Regions from separate parts of the Homo sapiens genome. Here all the other regions are linked to region 4. The links are contacts of gene promoters, found by promoter capture Hi-C in blood cells and fetal thymus (Javierre and others, 2016). All regions are on one chromosome and are shown on one strand. Each heading gives the region's core, a stretch centred on a gene start or on the middle of the fragment in contact. The rest is flanking DNA. Distances are from core to core; before and after follow the strand shown.

Region 1 (3,970 bases), core at 483-2,982, 1.3 Mb after region 4:
AAAAACAGCAAATTACCCGCAGCTTCGTAAGTTATCTGATATGCAAATAAGGCATGCGTTAGGATTGGGAAAATACAAACCTGCCTAAATAAAGACAGCTTGTCCTATGTTTTCGAGACAATGCTATACATTTCTGTAGGTTCCTGCTATTTCTTGTCATTAGATGGATCGTGTGTCTGGCAGTACCAAAAGCAGGGAAAAAGATACTTCAGGCAGATTGTTTTTATCACCTTGGAATAATGCCATAAAATGAAGGAAACCTTGACTACATCAGAAGCTTAACAGAGGAAAGCAAAGAAATATAAACTTCACAGTAATCTGTAAAATGGAGGTGGCAAGGGCAGTTTCCCAGATTTAACTGGAGATCTAACAGATTGGCACTGGAGGTAAAGAGCTCTGAAGTAACTTCTTGTTTGTTCCTCAAACCCAGAAATGCATGCTCCTGTGGCTTCTATGGGTTTTGGAAATGAGCAGATGGTCAATAAGATTTCTGTGCCTGTGACTAGCATACATTTAAAAAATCCTAAATTCCTGCCCTCAACCAACACACACCTAAGTACATTTGGGGTCAAGTAGAGTCCATGGCCCTTACTGGAACTATACAAATCCCTGGACCCAATAATAAAACATCTTTCAGAATTACATGTCAAACAATGGTCTGTATTTCCTCAATTTTAGCTAATATTGAGACAGGAAGACATCAAAAAAAAATTAATTGTTGCTGTCAGCAATAATAGCATGATCTTGGCAAGAAAGGAGATCAATACAAACTACAATTTTCCTCAATCAAATGTTTGCTAATTTTTTCTCAAGCTTATCAAATTGTGTACAATTGAATCAATATTTCAAGAATAAGAAAATAAATCAAATTAAGGAGGACCTTTATATTCAATTAAACTAGTTAGTTTAAGAACACAGCAATGCCTCCTGTCAAGGAGAGCCATTTCTGAGGCCCTCCCCAACCAGAAAAAAAATCTAACGGTGAACTGGAATTCTAGATTTAGTAAAGCTGACTTCATGAGAGATGAATAAAATATACTTGTATATAACAGCCAAATGGAATAGAATTTACTATTGAATCCGGTTGCTAAGGATTTAAGAAACTGAATGCTTACATAACTCCTATATCTTAGATATTTCTGGAGAGAACTGGAATCTGATACTTCTACGAATAAGAAGTATGGTAACTAAATTATAGAACATCACTCAGTTTTATGGTGGGATTTACAATACGTGGAAAGAACGAACTGATTTGTTGAGGGTTAGGAGATGGATAAAGAAAAGTATGCACAGTTAAACCACAGATCTTAAGAAAAAATTGCTTCAATTAGTTCTCTTGCTAAGACAAAATGAAAATAAAAAGCAGATGTAAAAACTGCAACCACATATTATTCACACTACAGAAAGAGCAGTAATATGCCATTCTTTCTTTTGACTGTGACCACAAGCTTTGTTTTATGCTAAGGAAATCAGATACGTAAAAGCCAAATGCTGCTTTTAAAACATTGCCATAAAGTTAAGTGCTGGGCCAGAGCATCTATATGAGAACATCACAATCAGTGAGCCCATAAGGAAAAGAAGACTTCTTATCTGCCCTTTTCACAAAGACCAACACCTCCTTCATCTCTGAGCCACATTCCTAGAGTTCCTCAAACTATTCTGACTTAACCACATTGACTCAACCACATTTATCATCTTAAATCTATATGCATACCAACTTACTACCTTATAGTTACCATACAGAGATAAGTCAGAAAGTCTATGTTTCAACTTGTTCAGAAAACTGTTTTCTTGACCAACAAAGATAAATCTTCAAAGGAATTTTTAAAATATCATGCCTTCATCAAATAACCTTTCCTTTCTCTGTGCTCCCGCAGCATACACTTTCCGTACTTTTCATCTGATCAGTGCCCATCTGGTGGTGGTTCTTGTTTCATTGCACAGTTACTCCACAACTTGTTCTATTGTTTACATCATATCCTCTGGTATCCTACAAGCTACCTTGAGGTCAGAGATCAAGCTTCATACTAGTCTGGACACTACATCAACCACTACAGTGTCTCCTATGAAATAAGCAGGCATTCAAAAATGTATTGACGATCTCTGCAAAGGCTGAACAAGTAACATAAATGCATGAAGTGGGCCTTAGGGCCTGCCATACAATATAGAGTGGTGGATACTGCAGCAAACCGGAGAATCTGTGCCCCATAGAAAGAGCAGTTGCTATTCATCTCAATTCGGTAATTGTCAAGCAAGAAGTTAGGTCTAATGCTGACATATTTTCTAATTTGAATTTTTCAAGAGAGAACTAGAAATTTGGATTTTTATAGGAATTTACCTAATTTTTAAATGTTGGCTAAAAAAAATCATTAAACCCTTTGTAAGCAAAAGCAGACCCATCTGGGAGCTTAATTTGTCCTGTAGGTCAGGGGCTCCTGACCCCCCAGGCCATGGACGGTTCTGGTAGATGGCTTGTTAGGAACCGGGCCCCAGAGCAGGAGGTGAGCGGCAGGCCCAAGTTCAACTGTATTTGCAGCTGCTCCCCATCACTCATGTTACCGCCTGAGCTCTCCCTCCTCCTGTTAGATCAGCAGCGGCATTACATTCTCACAGTAGTGTGAACCCTATCATGAACTGCACATGCAAGGGATCTAGGTTGCATATTCCTTATGAGAATCTAATACCTGGTGATCTGTCACTGTCTCCCATTACCCCCGGATGGAACCATCTAGTTGCAGGAAAACAAGCTCAGAGCTCCCACTGAGTCTACATTATGGTGAGTTGTATAATTATTTTGTTACAATATAATAATAATAGAAATAAAGTACACAATAAATGTAACATGTTTGAATCATCCCAAAACCATCCCCCTCTCTGGGCCCGTGGAAGAATTGTCTTCCACAAACCCAGTCCCTGACGCCAAAATACTTGGGGACCACTGCTGTAGGCCACCAGTTTTCAGCCTCGTGATACATAATGGTGGTTTTCTTCTGTGTCTCTGATCCCTCTGCCTCCTTCCCTAGTTCCTCTTCCTTCTCCTGCCCCTCACTTATGGAAATAGACTTTCTGGATACTCCTTGGATATGCTCTCTCTCTCTCTGCTCTAAACCACCACAGCACTTTACTTAGAGCCTTCTATGAATCTGGGCACTTTGGGAGGTTGAGGCAGGTGGATCTCTTGAGGCCAGGAGTTCAAGACCAGCCTAGGCAACACAGTGAGACCACACCTCTAAAAAAAATTAAAAAATTAGCTGGTGTGATGGCATGCACCTGTAGTCCCAGCTTCTGGGGACGGTGAGGTTGGAGGATCACTTGGGCCCAGGAGGTAAAGGCTGCAGCAAGCCATGATTGCACCACTGTACTTCCAGCCTGGGTGACAAGCGAGACCTTGTCTCTTGAAGAAAAAAAAAAAAGCTTTCTATGGCACCTGCCTGTGCTGTCTTGTCCACAGTTTTCTACGTATACTCAATACCTCCCATAAGGAAATAAGTTCTTTATATCACTTATAATAACATAATTGGCTGAGATCTGTGTCACTGTGCTAAACACTTTATGTATATTAACTCAGCTACCCATTACCTAAAGAACCTTAAAGAATATTACTATTATTTTATAAATAAGGAAAACGAGGTTTGGAGAGCTTCTAATTAGTGCCCAAGTCCACAGAACTAGTAAATGCAAAAGTCAAATTTGAAGTGAGACTGTTTTTTTTGAAACAGAGTCCCGCTCTGTCCTCCAGGCTGGAGTACAGTGGCGCGATCTTGGCTCACTGCAAGCTCTGCCTCCCGGGTTCACGCCATTCTCCTGCCTCAGCCTCCCGAGTAGCTGGGACTACAGGCGCCTGCCACCACACCTGGCTAATTTTTTGGTATTTTTAGTAGAGATGGGATTTCACCATGTTAGCCAGGATGGTCTGGATCTCCTGACCTTGTGATCTGTCTGCCTTGGCCTCCCAAAGTGCTGGGATTAC
Region 2 (4,523 bases), core at 1,769-4,268, 1.3 Mb after region 4:
AAATGAGATTATAGCTGCTCTTCCCATGATGGGGGTTTGGGGAGAGGAAATGGGTAACTATGTGAGGTGACTGATATGTTAATTTGTTTCACTATAGTAACCATTTTACCATATATATTTATAGATATATGTATCTCATATCATGTTGTAATACCTTAAATATACACAATAAAATTTATTTTTAAGAATATCAAAACCATGACCACAATATTATGAGACTCAATATTCATTTTTAAAATATAGGACTTGTACAAAATTCTGGAGAAGAAAAGAAAGTCATCATCATTTTCTAAATAACGATTAGTATATTTAGTTTAATGAGGTTCCCATTGTCAATTTTTGTTTTTGTTGCTATTGTTTTTGAGAATTTAGTCATAAAATCTTTGCCTAGGCCAATAACCAGAAGAGTATTTCCTAGGTTTTCTTCTAGAATTTTTATATATTTAAATCCTTAGTCCATCTTGAGTTGATTTCTGTACATGGTAAGTTAGAGATCCAGTTTTATCTCTCTTCCTATGGTTAGCAAGTTTTCCCAGCACCACTCCTTAAGCAGGGGCTGCAAATAGCAATCTCTTTCCAAAGAGTAGAGTGTGGCAAAGGATGGGGAAATATGGTAACTTACAGTGGAAAAATCTTACAAATATTTCCTCAGCCAGGTGAACAGAGTTAACATTAATAGCAATGTTATGTTAATAATATGATGTAATGTAATGAAAATGACCCTGTAACTCCATGGTTTTCCTCCCAAAAACACATACTCTCAGTCTAATCATGAGAAAAGCATGAGATAAATTCCAACTCTTGGACATTCTACAAAATACCTGACCAGTACTCCTCAAAACTGTCAAGGTCATTAAAAATAAAAAAAGTCTGAGAAAGTGTCATAGCCAAGAGTAGACTGAGGAGGCATGAGGGTTAAATGGAATGTGGCATCCTGGATGGGATTCTGGAACAAAAAACGGACATTAAGTAAAAGTTAAGGAAACCTGAATATATCAATATTGGTTCACTAGTTGAAACAAATGAACCATACAAATGCAAGATATTCATAATAAGGGAAACTGGGGGTGGGTATAGGGGAAATCTCTGTACCATATTCATAATTTTTCTATGAATGTAAAACTGTGCCCAAATAAAAAGTTTAGAAAAAACTTCCAGGTTAAAAAGATTGAGAAAACATTAACAAAATTAGAGATAAAGAGGATGTACAAACAATATGAAAAAGAATTATTATTTAAAAGACTATCTGAGATTGCATGTTAGTAAATTTTTAAATCTTCATGAAGTGGATACTTTAAAATCTTAGTGACATGGATGCATTGCCAAAATTGACTCCAGAATAGCTAGTAACCTGAAATAGAATAGCAAATATGAAGGCAGCTGAGAAAAGAGTCAGAGAAGTGCCTCCAAGAAATTATTTGAACCAGATGGTTTTTCCAGTGAAATCTTTCAAATTTGAAGGGAACAGATAATCCCTGTGTTATATAAACTGTTTCAAATCATAGAAATAAGTGAGCAGCCATCCCCATTCATTTTATGAAGTTCACACAGCCTGACAAAGCAAACACACATACATCGACTCTCCACCCTCAACTTCACCCCCTATACCATAACAAACATTTCACACACCTGTGTGTGCACACACAAACACAACTAACCTTGCTTATAAATATAGATGCAAAAAATCTGAATAAATTCATTCATTTAAATCTGGTACTAAATTAAAAGAATAATCTTCCATAACCAAGAAGGGTTGGCCCAGGAATAAAAGACTCATTTGGTATTTAAATCCATTAATTTTAAAACATTAAATATGTTGGACATGAAATAAAAATTTATGATAATTTAAATATATATTGAAATGCATTCAATAAATTTCAACACTAAGTTCTTACAGCTCTCAGCATAGGAATAATTGTTAAAAAGGACACAAAAATTAACATTATTTCCTGGTTATGTGTTCATAAACTAAAAAAAAGGTAAACAAGTAAAAATAATTAAAATTAATAAGATAATTTAGTTAAATGTACAAATAGAAAACAAATTATAAATGTCTAAAAAGTCACTAACTTTCGTCTATGTCATTAATAACCCTTTATAAATATGATGGGCTAAACACCAATCAGGGTAATAACAATAAAAAGATATATAAGACCTATGCATAGCTAACAGATGTATGAAACCTGAAGAAATTCTTTGACATATAAATGATAATATAAGAGACACAAACCATGTTCCTGTTGATGCAGTAACGTCTAGTAATCACAGGATTACTAATAATAACTCAATTTGTTGAGCACTTACTAAGTGCTCTAGAAGTCAGCTACCATGTTGTGAGGACATACACGCATCCTATGGAGGGGTTTGCGTAGTAAGAAATTAAGGTCTCCAACCCAAAGGCAGCAAGAAACTGAGGTCTGCAAACAACCATGTGAGTGAGCTTGGAAGCCGATTCTCCAACTCCAATAAAGCTTTCAAATGACTGTAGCCCCGGCAACCATTTGACAGGAGGGATCTTGAGTCGGAACCACCCAGCTAAGATACTCCCAGATTCCTGGCCCACAGAAACTGTGAGATTATAAATGTTTGTTGGCTTAGGTTGCCATGTTTTAGGGGTAATTTGTTACACAGCACTAGATAACCAGTACAATGATCTTGCAGGAAAATAATGACACCATGGAGGCGAGACTGAAAACTGTTTGAATAATCTGATAGAGAAATGCTGAGACCAAACCATTTAATAATGGGGATAAAAAAAAAACAGGTCAGATACAGATAGGGCAGAACAAATACTCATTTGGGGAACTCAAGGAAGAAGTGTAAAAGAACAATAACAGAGGAACTGAGGCTGGCTCTTCAATTTCTAGTTTAGGAGACTAGGTGGGTGATGAAACCATTAACTAAAGCAGAGAAAACATATAAAAGAAGGAATAAGTTTCAACAATAGGAGGAAGAAGGAAAGAAAAAGAAGAAAACCAGCAGGGAATAACAAATCCAGTAAAAATTGCACTATGCTATGAGAGGTCACTGTGTCAGATTCTACAGTGATGTCAAGTACAATCAAAACTGGAGGTATGCCATTAGATTTCAAATTTAGGAGGACCACTTATGAAGCAGCTTCCACAGCGTGACAGTAGAAAATACAGACACTGAAAAGTTAAGAAGTAAATGGAAGTTGACCAGGTAGCACCAAGAGATGTGGACTATTCTTTCAAGAAGTCTGACCTTTAAGGAGAAGAGGGAAACTGAGTGGTGTCTGTTTTAGAGTAAGATTAAAAAAAAAAATGAGGAAAAAGGCTTATTTGTATGTTCTGTTGGTTATTCATTGGTTCAATGGCTTTTTGATTCTGTTTTAGGACTAGAAGAGTTAAACATGGTAAGTTAAAGGGAAAGAGCCAGAGAGATTGAAGCTCTAGATGAAAAAATGGAATGACGAACAAACCAACAGCCAGGAACACAGTGAAAGGGATGGGATGTTACTGATTTTGGCCTCAGAGAATAAGAGTACCTTCCCTCCATCTAAAGTTAGAGGCAAGAGGCAGAGGATGAATGAACACAGTCAGGATGAAGCTTAGAAACAGAAGAAATGAATGTAAAAGGAATTCCTACCCTGTAGATTCATTTTCTCTGGAAAGGAAGACCAACCAAGACAGTGAAGGTCTTGCAGAAGATGGGAGATGAAGCACATAGTAATAGTTTGGAATCACCATTTTGGAGAATGCAAGAGATTGCTAAACAATGCTGAGACTCCAACAGAAATTAAAAACCAAAATCCTTGCCTGTGTCAGTCAGCACAGTTATGTGATTTCCTCCCTCTACCCTCTGCATATCAGAGTAGAAAGAGACTACCAGATTTTCTTTGAGTATTTAACCCAAGCATCCAAGAGCAGAAGTATCATATATCTGAGTCTCACAGAAAAGGCACCTAGAAAAAAGTATTCTCAAATTTGAAAAAGCCTAATTGGTTATGATGTTGATGTTTTGTGTTTATATGCATTTCTATATTTGGAGCTAGAAACACAAGAGAGAAACGTGACAAAGACAAAAAGAATAACCTCTATCAAAAAGCAACCCTGTCACTAGATGTATTTGTCTCAAAGAATATTGAATTCTACCTGTATTCATTAGATAAATGATAGAAACTAAGGGAAAACTCCTGGCGATGTAAAAGAGTTTTGATTTTTGCAACATGCCTCTAAAAAAACCCAAAAGTGACCCCTCAGTAATGGGATGGGACAGACTTTTAAAATACTTCAGAGATCTCTAGCAAGTACAATATTGTTTACTTCAAAATCCCAGTAAACTTGAGGTTAATATGTCTGGATTATAAGGTTCAAATGTGATATAAATCAATTTAATGTTGTTTTCAACTTTCTCTTGGAGTCAAGGCATCTTTTGTGTTTAGCACCTATAAATAAAAGTAAATGCACTATCCAACCACAGTTATTTTCTTCATTTATTTGCTGTTGCTTATTTGTGATGTTATAAGCCAACTGGGATGGGTTCTGTGTTTTGGAAGCTGA
Region 3 (4,107 bases), core at 1,133-3,632, 1.3 Mb after region 4:
ATAATTTTAGCCGCCTCTTCTGGCAGTCATCACACATCCCCATATTTCTGAATAACTCACATTCTACTCTGTTTCGCGTCACACATTTTGAGCATAATTTGATTTGGCCCCCTGTCATGGTAGGGGAGGATATTGCTCTCTTGTGCAATACTTCCAATCCTTAGGAAGGTAAAGTCCTGACTGGAAGGGCATTGGGAATGGAGTGTGGGGAGAAGATATGGAAGTGCAGGGTAGTGGGGAAGCTGGACTAAGGAGAGGCAGCTGGCCCAGCAGTGTGGCACCAACAGCAGATCTAGCCAGGGCTCTAATTACTTCTCAAACAGCCATCAACCTCCCCAACCTGAGCTTTCATATCAAAGTCACCTAGAGAAGCCAATACCTTAGCTAAGAATTATTACTGTCAGGCAAAAAAATAAAATAAACCTCTTGCAAAAAAACTGGAAACTAAGACAAACCCATAGAGAAGAATTATCCTTAATATCCTCAGCGAGATAGTAGAAAATGTTTCTTTCCCTTAAAAATGAAGATCCAAAGGACACAAAAGAAAAGAAAAGAAAAAAAGAGAGGAAAAAAAGCTCCAGGGAAGTTCTTAAGTCTGCTGCCCAGTCAGTTACCACCTTCCATCTGCTTTCCAGCTTCTAAAATTTGTTGCTGTTGTAGACTCACCTGGAACCAGAGAGCACTTTGTCTTCTCTCCTATTCCTTGCATCCTTCTGGATTTATGACATTTCTTTTTAACCCCTTAAATGTGGTTTTAGTGGCATTTCAGGAAGAAATAGAATTAGACACGTATAATCAATCAGTCATTTCTTATCAGGAACCACACATGGTTCCTTTGTGGGGTTTTCTTCATTAAGTCAATATAAAACTTCAGATACAGCATAAAAAGGTAAATCCCAGGCAGGAAAACAGTGAATTTTTTTAGAAGATTACTTTATTTTATTGAGATTGTATCCCCAAACAGGAGCAATTTCTGATGCGTTCTTCTTTGCAAATAATAAATTAGCTCACATATCAAGTATGATGAGGGTGCTTTCTGCAGAAAATTGTAAAACTTTGACTCAAACTTGTGTGTACAACATGAAATTTATTGTCTCACATTAACTGGAAGTTCAAAGGTAGAGACATGTGACTTAGCAGCTGAGTGACATCATCAGGTACATGTTGCCCTGTCTGTACTGTGCTGTCCTCTTTGTCACCTTTATTCCAAGGCTGGCTCCCCTAACTGTCGTCATGATTTACTGTAGAGTCTGAACTTAGAATTGGTAACTAATCCAAGGAAGCTTCCTTTCTTGTTCCTTAACTGTAGCCCAGGGAGATCCTAGTACTCTACGGTTACTTTCAGATATTGAAGAGTCTGGTCCAGTTTTAAAGTTCACGATGATGCCTAATGTAATGCTCTTCCTCTCCCCCAACTCAGGCTTGATCTGTAGCCCAAGGAACTCACCATGAGTGGATGAGAATCCTCTCCTCCTATAGCTTGATGTTTCCTCTCGCGGGTCCCCCTTCTGCCTCCATGGAGTTAGGAGGAAGGATGGGCAAAAGGAGGAAACATCTTCTCCTTGATTGGTGCAGCCATTGTTCTCTCATTGGTACTTGGTGGGGAATCTCCAGAGGTGTGGCATGTGGCCCTCAGTGTACACATCTCTGGTGCCAGACACAGTGCCGGCCTGACCACTTTCAACCCCTCTCAGCATCCACCCACAGCCTCCTCCAAGTCTGGCCAGGGGCCAGTTTTCAAGTCGAGTTTCTGTGGTGTCTCCTTGACATTGAGAAAATCACCCATTCTCACCATGCCACATGATGGGTGTGCAGGATGCCCTCTCTGTTTACTCTGTCATCTCTCTCCAATTCCTTTCTCACACCTCCAAATTCAGAGGGCCGATCAGCAAGCCCATCCCTGAAGCAGATATCCAGCTGAGGAAAAGCAGCCAGGCTTGCATTTTTCCACCGAGCAGATGTCTCATGACCTACACAACTCTCTTTAAATTTCTTCTGTTTTCTCCATAAATAACCTGGGTTTGCATGGAGGACAGAGGTAAGGGTTGGGGAGATGGTCCCCCCCTCCTCAAACCACCTCAAACTTTTGGCTAACCCAGCGTGTCTCAACCTTAGCACTACTGATATTTTGGACCAGATAATTCTTTGTTGTGAGGGCTGTCCTGTGCATTAGAGGGTATTTAACAGCATTCCTGGCCTTTACCCAGTAGATGCCTGGAGCATGCCCCACTCCTTGACAATTACGACCAAAACTTCACTGGCCTAACCCCAAGAGTCCCCTCTGTTCTCCTAACACCTAGGTTTTGAGACCCAAATCTAGGAAGAGATTCAAAGGATATCTGCTTTCCCTTGAGGCAATGAAAGCCTCGTCCCCTCCCCTGAGGCAATGCATGTGAATGAGAGGGGCCAGGCAAAGAGAGAAGAGAAGTTAGATGCACAGGTAATATGGTTAATATAGCAAGAGCATCATGCCGTGTGTTCTATTTTCTCACCTGTTGCCTTAGAATGTATACCACGTGTTTATTCTAGTAACTCCTTTGTGTGTGTATTACATTTTGTATATGGACTGCAATGAATACACATATAAAGAGAAATTTAAGGGAGGCAGAAAGATTTCATCACTAAGTTCTGATCAACATAGCTGATGAATAATTATTCTTCAAGCCCAACACACATGCCTGGAACTGCGTTTCTCAGTATTGAACTTCCCCTCCAACTTTGGAACTTACACTCCTAGTGCATTAAAAGGAGGCTTGGGTATTTGAAGGAGATGGATCAAAGGCCTTGCGTTTGATGCCTTTTAACTCTGCAGGAGTCATTCCAAGGAAATCAATAAGAGCCAGCAATAACTCCACTGAAAGCAAATCTTTCATCACTCATACACGACAGAGACCGCACCCCTGCTCCAGGTGCTGTATCTCTTATGTATTCATTCACCATTCACTCATTTCAATCTGGCAATAAGAAGCCCCTGAATCCCCAGGACATGAAGTGCTATAGAGGTTCGCATAAACAATGCTGGAGATCACAGTTTCATTTCTATACAGGTTTCCAACCTTTATTCTACTGATCAACTGATACCTTTGGCACAAATGGGGGAAAACATGGGTTGAAACTGAGGCTAAGAAAAAGGGAGCTGTTTTATCTTCTGAAACCTCATGTATGGAGAATCTAAGCTCATTTCCATTTATTTTATACGTCTTGCACAAAAAGGCTTTTGATGCTGCCCTGGGCATTGATACTTATTTCAATTCCTATTTTATTCACAGATTCCCAGGTTATTTACCATGACTCATTTCTCTTTTGGTTACAGAGCTCTAATGTGGCACACTAGTTGGGATACAAATCTGCTAAATATTTACAACTATTTGGGGAAAGTGCATCACTATGTTATGGTATTATTGACACTGTATGTTGAGACGTTGGTACACTACACTATGAAAGCATTAACCCTTTCCCTCCACCACAATTCCGCCCGTAATAAGCTTTTTTCCTTGTGCATCTCTGATCCAACCTGTAGCAGCAGCTCCATATGCACAGAGCCACCTCACCTCGGGCAGGTCTGCCAAGAGCTCAGCAGTACCCAGCTGGGATGCAGCAGTGGCTTTCCTCCTCAGATGAATCAGACTGGTGCTTGAGCTCCAGATGTTCATTTAGCCCACCAACTAACTTGCAGTTTCTTTCCTACAGATGGGGCCACTTTGGATTTGCATATCTGTCCTTAGATACTCTATGTACTCTACTCTGTTCTTACTTCGATACGGTCATTGAGTGCATTCATATTCAGATATGGCCTACACGTTAGTGGCCAAGGTGAACCTTCTTTTAACATCCTATTTTTTTCAACTGAGAATTGTCTAATTAAGAAATACTCTGGCTTACAGAGTTATTTTTTCTTCAGGGAATCTAATAGTCCCTTGGCATTATGTATTACCCCAAAGTATCATCATTATGAAAATTAATTACTGTTAGAATAACTGGGGAAAAGACCTACAGTTTTCTAAGAATATTCCGCATAAGCTGCCTAGCCACTTTATTTTTTTATGTAACGTATAAGTGCTAACACTGATATAGCTGTACTCTGTGCCAGGCATTGTGTTAAACAGA
Region 4 (4,420 bases), core at 787-3,286:
TGCTAGGCCAGTCATGCTTTTTTGTTTGTTTTTAGTTCTTTTTCTGTGCATAACTTTTGTTATTCATTTATTTAGATTTTTTAGGAAAACCAGCAGCAGAACACTTAAGATCAATAATAATAAAGAACAGTTACCTCATTTCTATTTGATTTTTACAGAGACTTTTTGCCAAGAGTACTAAGACTAGTACCTTCTATGACACCCCAACTCTGACAAGAGGCAGTAACCACTAATATACATTCTCCTCTCCCTTATTTGGAGATGAATTCAGATACATTAAACTGCAAGTAATTTTACGCTTAAGCCTTGTACAACACTAAAATATACAGTAATAATAGTCATTATACAAATGTATGGTTGAGTTTATGATATGGTTAGGATCTGTGTCTGTGCCCAAATCTCATGTTAAATTATAATCCCCAATGTTGGAGGAGGGACCTGGTGGGAGGTGATTGGATCATGAGGGCAGAGTTCTCTTGAATGGTTTGACACCATTCCTGCCTTGGCACTGTATAGTGAGTGAGTTTATCATGAGATCTGGTTTTTTAAAAGTGTGTGGCAGATCACGAGGTCAGGAGTTCGAGACCAGCCTGACCAACCTGGTGAAACCCCGTCTCTACTAAAAATACAAAAATTAGCCGGGTGTGGTGGTGGGCGCCTGTAATCCCAGCTACTCGGGAGGCTGAGGCAGGAGAATCGCGTGAACCCGGGAGGCGGAGTTTGCAGTGAGCTGAGATCATGCCACTGCACTCTAGCCTGGGCGACAGTGCGAGACTGAAAAAAAAAAAAAAAGTGTGTGGCACCTCCCTGCCTCCCTGCACCCTCTCTCTTCCTCTTACTCCGGCCACGTGATAGCTGCACTCCCCCTTCCCCTTCTGCCACAACTGTCCATTTCCTGAGGCCTCCCCAGGAGTGGAGCAGATGCCAGCATCATGCTTCGTGTACAGCCTGTGGAACCATGAGCCAATTAAACCCCTTTTCTTTATAAATTACCCAGTCTCAGGTATATCTTTATAGCAATATGAGAGTGGACTACTACAGCTTACCTTTGAGTGTTTTACACATTTATGGGTATGCTTTTTGTTTGTAACCATAATTAGGAAGGCGAGAGCATTACTGGTCTTTATTGGACTGGGGCTACGAATGCTATGTAGTCTGCAATGGAAGGGACAGGTCCATACAAGGGATCAATAGTTATACTTCATGCAGGATTTCCAACAGTTCTGCTAGAGTATTCATGTAGGTGACATGCCTGCTAATAATGATCTAACCTTATACTCTTAGTACCTTTTACATATGAACCCTAAAATACATTTTTTAAATCCTTTAGATAAGAGATTGAATTCTTCATGGATAGTACACAGAGGGTATATTATGTTTTGTTTGTTTGGAACTTTACAGAGAATTCGCCACAATTTTGGAAAACCACATCAACTACCTTACTTTGCTGGCGGTATGTTTGTTGCTTATACAACTAATGCTTTGTCAGCAATGAAGCACATCATCTGAATATGCAGTTGAGGGGATTCTACATAGATAGATGCAAGCATCTGATCACTTCATTGGTCTTCCGCATTTCATAAGGAGAAAAATATTACCTTGTTATAAATTACTTCATTTTTTCCTTCAAGTTGAAGCATCGTCGTGTATATTGATTTAAAAATTATATGTGTAGGCATGTGATATTAGTTACTAATTTTAGCTGAAGATAATTATAATTTTATTTCAGATTTCTGTTATTAAAAAGGTCTGGAATCGGATAGGTTGAGATCAACCCGATACCACGATATTTGCTAAAATTTATTTGAACACACAGAAAAGTCCCAACACAGAGAACTCTTTATTACTATTATTTATTATTTCTACTATTCTTTTAAAAAATTATTATCGTTACACGCAGCGGTTTTAGGCACTATGAAGTGTTTATTGCCTCGGGGCTGGGAACCTTTGCGCCCTTCTTCAGCTGTGCTCTCAGGCAGTTACCGGCCAGACCCGGACCGGAACCTTGGCGCGGTGACGCTAGTTTCCGGCGGGCTACTTAGAGCGCCGAACAGCTCTGGGCCAAAGGACCATGAGAGGGCCGGAGCCGGGTCCCCAACCGACGATGGAGGGAGACGTGCTGGACACACTGGAGGCGCTGGGGTGAGTGCTTTTGGAGACGCCTTTTCCCTGAAAACGCAACCTCTCCTTGGCCTGGCTGCTTAGCCTACTTCCCTTGGGCCTCTGTGGGCCTGGGCGGCCATGTGTAGGCCTCCTTCCCTGCCTCGATCCCTCCGGCGCCGACGGAGTTAAGCGGGAGGCGGGAGAGAAATCTATTTGGGGGGTGGAGCAGGGCCGGAGAGCTGGGGTTCGTGGCCCCCTCTTCGAAACTTCTTGCCTCGAAACTCTGTTGCAGGAATCCGCCGGGTGGCGCGGAGCGGCCCTTCTAGCACCGGTTTTCTGGGCTAGCTCGCGCCCGCAGGTGATATTTGTGTTGACGTAGTTCTGGCGCCCGGAGGGAGGTGCTGGAACCTGAGCTGCTGTTGAGGACTGTTGTCTCCTACAATGTACAACTTGTGGCTTACTTGGGGCTCTGGAGCGAATGGCTTTTACTTTGACCGGAGAAAGTGTTGTAGTTCATTGCGAGTTCGTTCTTTCAACCATTTCGTCCGTTCGTCAACGTGTATATTAGCTTGTATATTAATTTACACATATTTACGTTTGTAAATTTCCCCTAGGCAAGGGAAAAGGATAGTTTTTCAGATTACTCTTGGCTTACATAGTCGCGCAGGCTGCAAGTCTGCTGCCGGCTGGTATTTACAGTGCAGAATGGTAAGTGCTGTGAGAACTCAGGGTGGAGGTGGGAGTAATGTTAATACTTAACAAGTGTGGTGGTTCGTAATCTCCCCCTCAACCTCATCCTGTTTTTTTCCACACAGCTCTTGTCCCCATCCCAAATTATCATGTCCTGCCCATTCATTTGTCTCTTGAACTCTGCTTCTCCCTCGTTTTATTCCTCCTCCTCCCCAAGTCAGCTCCTGGAAAACTGATGCTTTGCATATTTTATTCACCGATGTTTTCCCAGCAACACACTAGAACGGAGTCTTTTACAGTAAATAGTGGTTGAATGAATGAGTAAATGAATGAAGAAAAGCTTAGAGAAGAGTCCACAGCAGTAAGCATAGGACCAGATAGTTGAGTCATACAGTGCACATTAAATAAAGAGCTTGGAGCCATCTGCACATTTGTTTGCCCTGCTACGTGCTGCTGTTTCTTGATAGGGGAAGCTGTGCCTTTGCAGCGTTATTATGAAGCTTGAACCAATCCCACACCCCACTTTATCTTCTCTAAAACTGCATTTGCCCCTCTATCAATTGTTTCTTTAGTTGAACCCTGATAATACCTACTTTGCAGTGACCCAGGGTTACGGAGTCTTGCACTTAGTAGATCGTGAATACATATTTGTCAAACGAAAGAACAGTGCCATTGATTATTTAGGGGGCATTTTTACTTCTGTGAAGTCCCTTGGAAGTTCTCACTTAACTTGGTTAAGAAGGAACCAAAACAAGAACTGAAAATACTTAGTAGAATTATTTAGGCTCCAAACAGTTTGAGCTCCCAAGTACTTCAGGTAAGAATATTGGGAACTCATAAATGGTTTATGAAAAAGGAAAAGGCAGTGCTTTTCTTCTTTCTTCATTTCTTGAACTTATTGTTCATATTATAAGTGTTTTAGAAAATTCATTGCTATAATCTTGATTTTTATCAAGGAAAATTAGTCAGATTATTCAACATGGAAAGTAAAACAGTTTACACACTCCAAAATTAGTTTTTCCTGGAATAACTATGAGGGCAACATTTTGAAGTTTGAATTCTCCTATGATAATACGATGTGAAAAAAGTAGTTATTTACAATATGTGTTGTAATGGAACACTGTGTTTTCAAATATCCATGTAGATAGTGAATAATGCATTTTCTGTTGTAAGGTATTGAGGATATCAGCAAAGGTACTTCAGTTTGTCATGTAAAATAAATTAATGGGAGGCATTTGAAGGGAAAAATCTATGTGAAAGGACAATTTAGTGATACAGGTGAAAACAGGATAGGCTAGGAGTCAGTCAGTTTTCTCATCTGTGAAAAGAGAGGGCTGGAGCAGATGATTTTAGAAGTCTCTTTCAGTTCTGATAGTCTCTGATTTTGTGGAATAGTAGATCTCAACACTGGAAGTACATCAGAGTCGTGTGGAACTTGTGAAAAACTGTTCCAGTCTAGTATATACCATAGACTGACCGAATCATAATCTTCAGAGGTACAGTACAGACCTGCATATTTTTAAAAAGATTCACAGACTCAGTTGAGAAACACTACTATGGAGAGAAGTTTCCTTTAAATATTTATTGAACACACTGTATATTGGACCTCGTTCTGAGGAGTCAGTGG
Region 5 (4,153 bases), core at 1,242-3,741, 1.1 Mb after region 4:
ACCACCCCCAGGAGCAACAGCAAGTGTTTGAGTGGGTTCAAAAGAGAGTTGGGGAACTAGGGGGATTGGGGCTGCACGTGACGAGGAGAAAGGGTGTGGGATAACATGGGTTGGCCTTGGTTGATAGGCTATGTCCAGTCTCTGCTGCCTCTGTCTCTCCTTCCTCCTCCTTACCTCACTCTTGAGCCCCCCACCTTTCTCTGTCTCCCTATCTGAAACACATACCCTGCTCTTAATTGGGAAACTAGTAAACATTTCTGCTGATTTTAATCCTGAAACATCATTGAGACCATATGAAATGAGTCTTAAGGATCAGAACCATATGAAGGGAAGGACTGTGGGCTGGCAGCCGGCGCACCTGTGCTGTCTTCTGGACTTCCACCACCAACAGTCTCCAGGACCTGTTTCAAGTTGCTTCACCTCTTTGAACCGACTTCATCTATTAACTGAGTGGTTGAACTAGATGGCTCTTTCTGGCTTAAAAATTCTGTGATTTCATTTCTGGAGGAATTTCAAGCATGGGTAGAGAGAGAAGAAACTGAGAGGCAAGAGGTATGGTTTGGACTCATCAAATTAAATCACAGGTGACTTTCCAGTCCCCCCACCACCCCGATCTGTAAGGCTGCCTTTGGGTGCGTGGCCTTCCTGCAAAATGGCAAACACTTGAAAAAGCTTCCACGCTGAAACCCAAACCAGACCATATTTAGGATGCCCCATAAGGTGGCATTTTTTACTAAGATGATAAAGGATAAACATTGGTGGAGCCAGAGAGGCTGCTCCCAAATACAGTCCTCCCCATCAGCAACACTGCAGTAGCCTGCACCTATCGTCCAGAGTATGAAAAAGACTTTTGCCAAAGACGGCTTTTGGGGATTTATCATTATTACATGTTAAGAGCCTGTTCTCCATGTCCTCACCTTCCTACCTTGCTAATCTTCCCCATTTCCATCTTTCGGCCCAGTGTGAGACCTCACCATCTCCTTTTCCCATCTTCTTTCCTCCATACCCTTGGTTTCCTAGCAGGTCAATGCCCCTGCCCCTTCACTGGAATCCATCCATCCTGGTTATTCTTTTCTTTATGAACCTGCTGGACTACATCTCAAAGTTACCCAAAAGAGGGATACAAAGACACAATAAAATCGGAAATAACGCTCACCCTTACCAGCCTGCAGTTAAGAGTGTGTGGAACTAGGGTGGCTGCAGGCAAAGAGATAGGGGGAAGGGCTGCCTCATGCCATGGGCAGGACAGTAAATGGTGCAAATTTTCTGGAAAGCATCTTAGTAATATAGGTGAAGAGCCTTTACAATGTGTTTATCCTATGACCTATCCTTACTTCTCTTATTCTAAAGGAATAAGAAGAGGTTTAATCAAAGCATGAGTGAAAAGGCCATCCAAACACAGGGAAAGGGGCCGTTATGATGTCTACGGTTCTAAGAAATAGAAAACAACAACTTGGCTTAAATAATAAGCACATAACCAAAGAAATCTAGAAGTAGGATTCCCTTAAGAGTTGAGAGATTTAGCAGCTCAAAAATGTGACCTGACATACGAGTTCTTTCTATGCTTTTGTTCTTCCTCCTCCAACACTGGTTTCACACTAAACTTGGCTCCCCAGTGGCCAATAGCACCAAACAGCACTTATCGGCATTCTTGTTGGTATCCAAAAGAGATGGAGAAAGCCTGATTTCACATGGCTCTTCCTTAAAAGCAACAAAGGACTTTTCCCGGAAGCCTTCAGCAAACCTCGTCAGATTTGAATCACATGCCAATTCCTAAATCAGTCACTGGCAGGGAAGTGGGAAAAAGGGGAGGAGGTGTTTACCCTTAACCAATATGCCTACCCCTGCCCACTGAGATCAATTCCATAAAAGTATTGCTTCAGTTCTTTGAAGAGGAGTACAATGTTTGTGAGTCACTCACCACATTTACCCACCAAGAGCTAAGGGATAACTGAGTAAAATGGTAGAGCTGGTAGGAAAATGGTGAGTAGTCCCGTCCTTCTGTGCCATAATTGACTTGTACACAAAGAGATTTGGAAATTTAAACATAAGAACTCTCTCTTCCCAAGCCCAGGGCTTTGGGCACTTCAAGTCTGGTCCTTGCCTGGGCACAGTGGCTCACGCCTGTAATCTCAGCAATTTGGGAAGCCAAGGAGGGTGGATCACCTGAGGTGATGAGTTTGAGACCAGCCTGGCCAACATGGCGAAACCCCAACTCTACTAAAAAATACAAAAATTAGTTGGATGTAGTGGCACACGCCTGGAATCCCAGCTACTCAGGAGGCTGAGGCAGGAAAATCGCTTGAATCTGGGAGGCAAAAGTTGCAGTGAGCTGAGATTGTACCACTGCACTCCAGCCTGGGAGACAGAGCAAGACTCCATCCCACCCCCCACCAAAAAAAAATTCTGGTCTTTACATGTGAAAAAATAAAAGCTAATTTTTAAAAACTAAATAATAAAGAGTGTTAGGTGATAAGTTTTATGATAGAGATAATGTGTGCTTTAAAACACACAGCATAAAACAGATGGAAAACACCTCATGGAGAAGGGAGAGCTTGAATTGGTGTTTGATTGAAGGACAAGAAAAATCTGTTGGTAACTTCCTCCTGGCTCTGACCTCTGATGCAGTTAAAGTAAAGCAACTTAGAATTATGATCTAGGGAACATATTCAGAGAGAAATGAATTTATGATGTCTTCAATTTGAAGATGCTATGATTTTAGACTATTCTAGAATACAATGATTTTTCATTGCTTCACACTTGTAAGAAATGTTCCACTACTGAAAATTTGCAACACTTAAAAAATTCCTACACAAAATCACAGCCCACCTTGCTGTTCTATGCTAAATAAACAAAATATTTTTTCTCAATTATGTTGCTCTCCTTAATTACACGCAATTTTAAAACTAGCTGTAACTGACAGCCCTTTCCTCACACTTACTGCCAATGTATTTAGGTCAATCCCACCTCCAATTAGAGAAACTTAGAAAAAGGAAATCCTACGGTGAAATGCCATATGCCTTACAATTTTCAGTAACTAATCCTCAAGGATGACAACTTGGCAAAAAAGAGAACTGGACCAGCTCCCTGAAAGGTCCATCACTTCGGCCCATGTTAATTGATTGCCTTAAAATCACAGTGCTTCCAGGTTGTAGAGACACACTCAAAATGGACTATTGCCCTCACATTAAAGGGGATAGGTTTTCTTTTCCCTTTTCCCATCCCTGCTTCTCTCAAAGCTGCACAGAGGTATATGAGGTTTGGGGAATATTTGCAGCACATGTTGGCTGGCAAGAATGTGGGTGAATTCCTGTTAAGGGGCGCAGACACTCCCTCTTCTATGACCTTTCCTTTCCACCCAGAACAACTGAAGTATCATGATAAGAGGAAGGGCTTTGTGTTTGAGATAAGCAGCTCCTATACCTGTCAGCTTTCTCTAATAAGAAAGCTCTTTCCTGCCACCGTATAGGTCACCTTCTTATTGGTAAAGCATGATGAAGTTTGGAAACTGTTGTCCTTGTTTTGTTGAAAGAAGCCAAGTTCCAAGAAATCTGCAGAGGCATTCCTACAATCCCTCAGCCATGGCAGCATGAATCCTGAAGGGGCAGTGAGTGCTGGTTTCTACTCTGTCTGCACAGCTAAGCCTAGGGGAGATAATCTTTTCATACAAGATGCATTCTGCTTTTGTGGGCCTCTTGCAGCCCTCAAGCCCCCATCTGATTTGTACACAATGATCCAGTGGGCCAGAGGAGCCCAGAGCCATGAGCGGCCCATCCCTCCAAGAACTATTTCTGACTGTCCAGTATCATGGAGCAAGTGGAAAGAAGAAAAAAAAAACCCAATTACTTTTCGAAGAGCAAGATGAATGCTGTAGAAGGAGAAGGAAGGGGAGGGAGATGGATGGGTGCCGATTCCAGAATCTTCAGATCTGCTTGGATGAATCATTACCTATGATTTGCGGGACAAGAATCTGATTTTATTCATCAACCAGTAGAAACTTTTCTTTCTGCCTCCCAACATCTGAAATCCAACAAACATGTGCCTTAGGAACATACCGGTCATCTTTTAGAGGCATTTTATATACATATTGAGTAACTAGAAAACACTCTTTCCGTAATACACACACACACACACACACACACACACCATCTTG
Region 6 (4,324 bases), core at 240-2,739, 1.2 Mb after region 4:
AGACAAACTGGTTGAAAGGAAGGGTGCTGAAAGTATTCTCCATATCACCCTGTATAGGCAATGACTCACCCCACCTACAGGCAGAGGCGAAGTAACGAAGACACCTCTTCCCAGACTTCATGTCCACTCACCATGGAAAAAATGCTTCAGATTTGCAAAAATGCCCAAGCGTAATAAAAAGCCTGCATTCTGGGCCTACTGCTGTGATATTCACTACAAGTCTGACATAGAGGTTTAATTTGGTCTGCTGTGAAAATAGAACTGAATAATAATCACAGTCTTTGATTGTGGTTAGGTTTAATTATAGAAACCTATTCAAGTACATATATATTAATAGAAAGCCTCACAAACATGGCAGAAAACCATTTCTGTTCATAAGTATTTACAGGGAAAGCTCTCCTTATTTACTTTATTTAAATAAATATTTCAAATCAGCAAACCAAAAAAGAGCCCCCATCTTTCATGTGAACATTTTCTAATCATGTCATGTTAATATTTTCTCCTTTGATTTCCAATGAGCTAGCACAAGCTCTGGCCTCTGCACTAGATGGTGGTGCTGAGTCACTTATTTAGAATGGAATTATGGATTATATAAAGACTGACGAGTACAATAGATGTTCAATGTGGTGGTTGTCGGAAACATCACCTAATTAAATATGCTAAAATATTTTGGCTGAAAATTTGTTTTAAATCTTCAAATTTTTATACCTTCTGATTTTCTTTGTTGTTGTTGTTGTTGAGACAGGGTCCGACTCTGTCACCCAGGCTGGAGTGCAGTGGCTCAATCTTGGCTCACTACAATCTCCACCTGCTGGGCTCAAGTTATTCTCCCACCTAGCCTCCCAAGTAGCTGGGACTACAGATACGCACCACCATGCCCGGCTAATTTTTTAATTTTTTTGTAGAGATGAGGTTTTGCCATGTTGCCCAAGCTGGTCTTGAACTCCTGAGCTCAAGCAATCCTCCCACCTCAGCCTCTCCAAAGTGCTGGGATTACAGGCGTGAGCCACTGCGCCCGGCAACTTCTGATTTTGTAATATAGAAATAACTGTCTTGGCCAGGCATGGTGGCTCAAGCCTGTGATCCCAGCACTTTGGGAGGCCGAGGAGGGTGGATCACGAGGTCAGGAGATCGAGACCATCCTGGTCAACATGGTGCAACTCTGTGTCTACTAAAAATACAAAACTTAGCTGGGCATGGTGACGTGTGCCTGTAATCCCAGCTACTCAGGAGTCTGAGGCAGGAGAATCGCTTGAACCAGGGAGTCAGAGGTTGCAGTGAGCCGAGATCGGCCACTGCACTCCAACCTGGTGACAGAGTGAGACTCTGTCTCAAAAAAAAATAAATAAATAACTGTCTTTGGAAGTCAGACAAAATAATGAGCAGCCTTTATTTCCTTTTAATCTAATTTCAAATTAATGTTTTAACTTCAAGTAGGCAGGGCAAAAACACAATTTCTCTCAAATCGGGTAATAAGAATTAATTGAAGGGTGATAGGTCGAAATACAAGGAGCATAAAAATGAAAACACAGAGATATGGACTCAGAATTGTACTTCCCTTTGCTAGACATAAATTTCACTCCTATAATTATCATTTTTAATGTCCAAAATCTTCCCCACATAGGCTATACTTCTTTTTTTTTTTTTTTTTTTTGAGATGGAATCTTGCTATCGCCAGGCTGGAGTGCAGTGGTGCGATCTCGGCTCACTACAACCTCCCCCTCCCGGGTTCAACCATTCTCCTACCTCAGCATCCCAAGTAGCTGGGACTATAGGCACGCACCATTGCGTCCAGCTAATTTTTGTATTTTTAGTAGAGACGGGGTTTCACCATGTTGGCCAGGATGGTCTCGATCTCCTCACCTCGCAATCTGCCTGCCTCTGCCTCCCAAAGTGCTGGGATTACAGGTGTGAGCCACTGCACTCGGCCTGGCTATACTTTTTAAATGTCCAAACAATTAATTAACTTAATCTAGTTTTTTTTATTCGTAAAATGCATTTCTTAACTGAATTCAACAGTTAATTAAGCCAGGTGACTTCTTCATGACTGACCCGTTAAAATCAATTTTGCATTTATAAATTACCATGAACCTATTAATGCACAGTATAATTACTGTATTATAACTAACTTCTACACTAAAACTTGCAATATGGACTGTGAAGCCAGTGGAGAGGAAAATCTTTAGACGTAGTTAATTGAATAAATATATAAATTTGAAGATTCATTAGGGATTTAAACATTCCGTTTCAAAACTGAAGCCATCACATACTATTATTCTAATTTATTTCAACCTATAGTTCATATTTAAGTGCTAAATATTAAAATGTTGTAATAGACGCTGATTATATCATCTTCATGTAAAATGAAACACCAGACTTTGCTGTCATACACACTGGACAATAGGTGAAAAAACTCCAACAGCAGAGTAAACCAACAACATTCCTAAACGATCTAAAGATTCTCACAGCCTCCAAATTTGCAGATACAGAAACTTACATATAGGCCCTCAGTTCTTCCACAAGCTCCACCACCCATCTACCAGCACCTGTACCCAGTGCCCCACCATCCCTCATGTCACTAAACGGACTCCCTGTGCTCCTCTTGATGGCTGTCCCCTCTACCTGCACACAAGAGACCACCTTGTCTTGCCTACTCAAGGTCATCGCTTTGGCAATCTCCCCACTCTCTTTTGCGTCACTGCTTTCCCCCTCTCTACTGGATTTTTCCCATGAGTATACAAAAAGCTGCTATTCTCCAATATTAAGGAAAAGCCCTCTTTTGATCCCGTTCCTCTCTCTGCCCACCACTGCATTTCTCTTACTTTCTTTACAATAAAATTTCTTAAAATAATTGGTCTTACTATCACCAAATCCCTCTCCTTCTATTGTCTCTTAAACTCAACCCAAACAGGGTTTAGTCCACCACTCCGTTAAAACTGCTCTTGTCTATCACACCAATGCCCTGCACATTTCTACAGCAGCTGTTCATTCTCAGTCTCCATCTTACTGGACCTCTCAGCACTGTATAACACAGCTGAACACTCTTCATCTGGCAACACCTGGATAGAGCATATTATACATTTCATAACTCAGCCCTATTTGTCAATGTAACTTTCTACTTTGATTTATCCAGCAATTTCATTTTTTGGCCAAGAACTGCAACTTTCTCAAACCATTTTCCCCTTTCTTCATTGTCTTCACCACACTAGCATGTGGCCTGTTTAGAGCTACTTCTCAGAACAAAATAAAGTATCTAAAACACAGTGATCATTACTGTGAAAATGGTGAGGCATAGAGAATGAAGCTTCACTGTCATGCGGACGCCATGTCTCCTTTCCACTAGTACATGTGCATCTTACACCAAGACATCAGTGGTACCTAATGTATCTTACTCCCAGGATCCTATGAGCACAATGTCACAATATATTGGACTAACATGGTGCCCTGTGTGAAACCTTGCAGACAAAATGGTAACACAGAGCCAAAAAGAAGATAGAGGCCTAAAAGCAAGGCAATGAAGTTATTCTGCTGCCCCTATGAGGTACAAGCAAACTGTTTATTCTCTGCTTATGTGCCTTTAGTAAAAAAAGCATTTGGGCTGGGTGCGGTAGCTCACGCCTGTAATCCCAGCACTTTGGGAAGCCGAGGCGGGCGGATCACAAGGTCAGAAGATTGAAACCATCCTGGCCAACATGGTGAAACCCCCTCTCTACTAAAAATACAAAAATTAGCTGGAGCATGGTGGTGCATGCCTATAATCCCAGCTACTTGGGAGGCTGAGGCAGGAGAATCGCTTGAACCAGGGAGTCGGAGGTTGCAGTGAGCTGAGATCATGCCACTGCACTCCATCCTGGCGACAGAGAGAGACTCTGTCTCAAAAAAAAAAAAAATCCATTTGCCAGATAGATACATGCATACCAAAGATCAAGGCATGTATTGAGTTACTAGAAACTTTATCCTGAAGAGGACACATGTTCCAGTAATCTCTCCATATTTCCATTTCCCCAATTACTCTAGTAAGTACACTCTTTCAAAGGGCCGGATCTAGCAAGTTCTTGACCTTAGTTCCATGTAAGGGATGTTGGGCTTATGAACTGACCTGTCTGGGAACAATCGGATGGGGGCTATGATTTCCTATTGTAATAGCTTAAATCAAGCCTCCATTTGCCAGAAGACCCAGAGTTTTTTGGTTGTAAAAATCAGGTGGCATAGCTAAGCACCTATGCATTTCAGTCACAGGAATCCCATTATCAGTAGCCATTCCCAAAGATTCCTGGTCATCCTGATTAAATACCCATCCTGCTGCCTATTATGGAAGCCATGC

Evidence for each region. Contacts are between HindIII fragments. The CHiCAGO score rates a contact against its expected background, and 5 or more counts as called.
Region 1: a fragment that was not itself captured here is called in contact with the fragment with the promoter of FAM98B in region 4 in 3 of 17 cell types (activated CD4 T cells, total CD4 T cells and naive CD8 T cells); the score reaches 6.9 in activated CD4 T cells.
Region 2: a fragment that was not itself captured here is called in contact with the fragment with the promoter of FAM98B in region 4 in 7 of 17 cell types (activated CD4 T cells, naive CD8 T cells, naive CD4 T cells and 4 more); the score reaches 13.1 in activated CD4 T cells.
Region 3: a contact is called between a fragment that was not itself captured here and the fragment with the promoter of FAM98B in region 4, in 2 of 17 cell types (non-activated CD4 T cells and naive CD4 T cells). The highest score is 7.7, in non-activated CD4 T cells.
Region 5: a fragment that was not itself captured here is called in contact with the fragment with the promoter of FAM98B in region 4 in 3 of 17 cell types (naive CD8 T cells, total CD4 T cells and total CD8 T cells); the score reaches 9.0 in naive CD8 T cells.
Region 6: a contact is called between a fragment that was not itself captured here and the fragment with the promoter of FAM98B in region 4, in 4 of 17 cell types (total CD4 T cells, naive CD8 T cells, total CD8 T cells and 1 more). The highest score is 7.1, in total CD4 T cells.

What each region holds. Positions count from the first base shown.
Region 1 is chr15:39,719,535-39,723,504 of GRCh38, forward strand. The region is part of intron 9 of FSIP1 (fibrous sheath interacting protein 1); the gene reads right to left. Among named protein-coding and RNA genes, the nearest start is that of FSIP1, 61 kb to the right of the region's middle. The HindIII fragment of the contact is 572 bases long and covers 1,447-2,018 here.
Region 2 is chr15:39,751,793-39,756,315 of GRCh38, forward strand. All of the region lies in intron 5 of FSIP1 (fibrous sheath interacting protein 1), which reads right to left. Among named protein-coding and RNA genes, the nearest start is that of FSIP1, 29 kb to the right of the region's middle. The HindIII fragment of the contact is 1,099 bases long and covers 2,470-3,568 here.
Region 3 is chr15:39,793,982-39,798,088 of GRCh38, forward strand. No RefSeq gene overlaps it. Among named protein-coding and RNA genes, the nearest start is that of FSIP1, 13 kb to the left of the region's middle. The HindIII fragment of the contact is 2,202 bases long and covers 1,282-3,483 here.
Region 4 is chr15:38,452,091-38,456,510 of GRCh38, forward strand. FAM98B (family with sequence similarity 98 member B) reads left to right here and starts at 2,037. Exons shown (of 8, transcript NM_173611.4): 1 at 2,037-2,142. The coding sequence starts at 2,072. RefSeq lists enhancers at 2,185-2,294, 2,355-2,454. The HindIII fragment of the contact is 3,660 bases long and covers 1-3,131 here.
Region 5 is chr15:39,575,495-39,579,647 of GRCh38, forward strand. No RefSeq gene overlaps it. Among named protein-coding and RNA genes, the nearest start is that of THBS1, 3.5 kb to the right of the region's middle. The HindIII fragment of the contact is 3,643 bases long and covers 671-4,153 here.
Region 6 is chr15:39,631,458-39,635,781 of GRCh38, forward strand. All of the region lies in intron 10 of FSIP1 (fibrous sheath interacting protein 1), which reads right to left. The region is part of intron 2 of LOC105370785 (a long non-coding RNA gene); the gene reads left to right. Among named protein-coding and RNA genes, the nearest start is that of THBS1-IT1, 47 kb to the left of the region's middle. The HindIII fragment of the contact is 3,626 bases long and covers 1-3,302 here.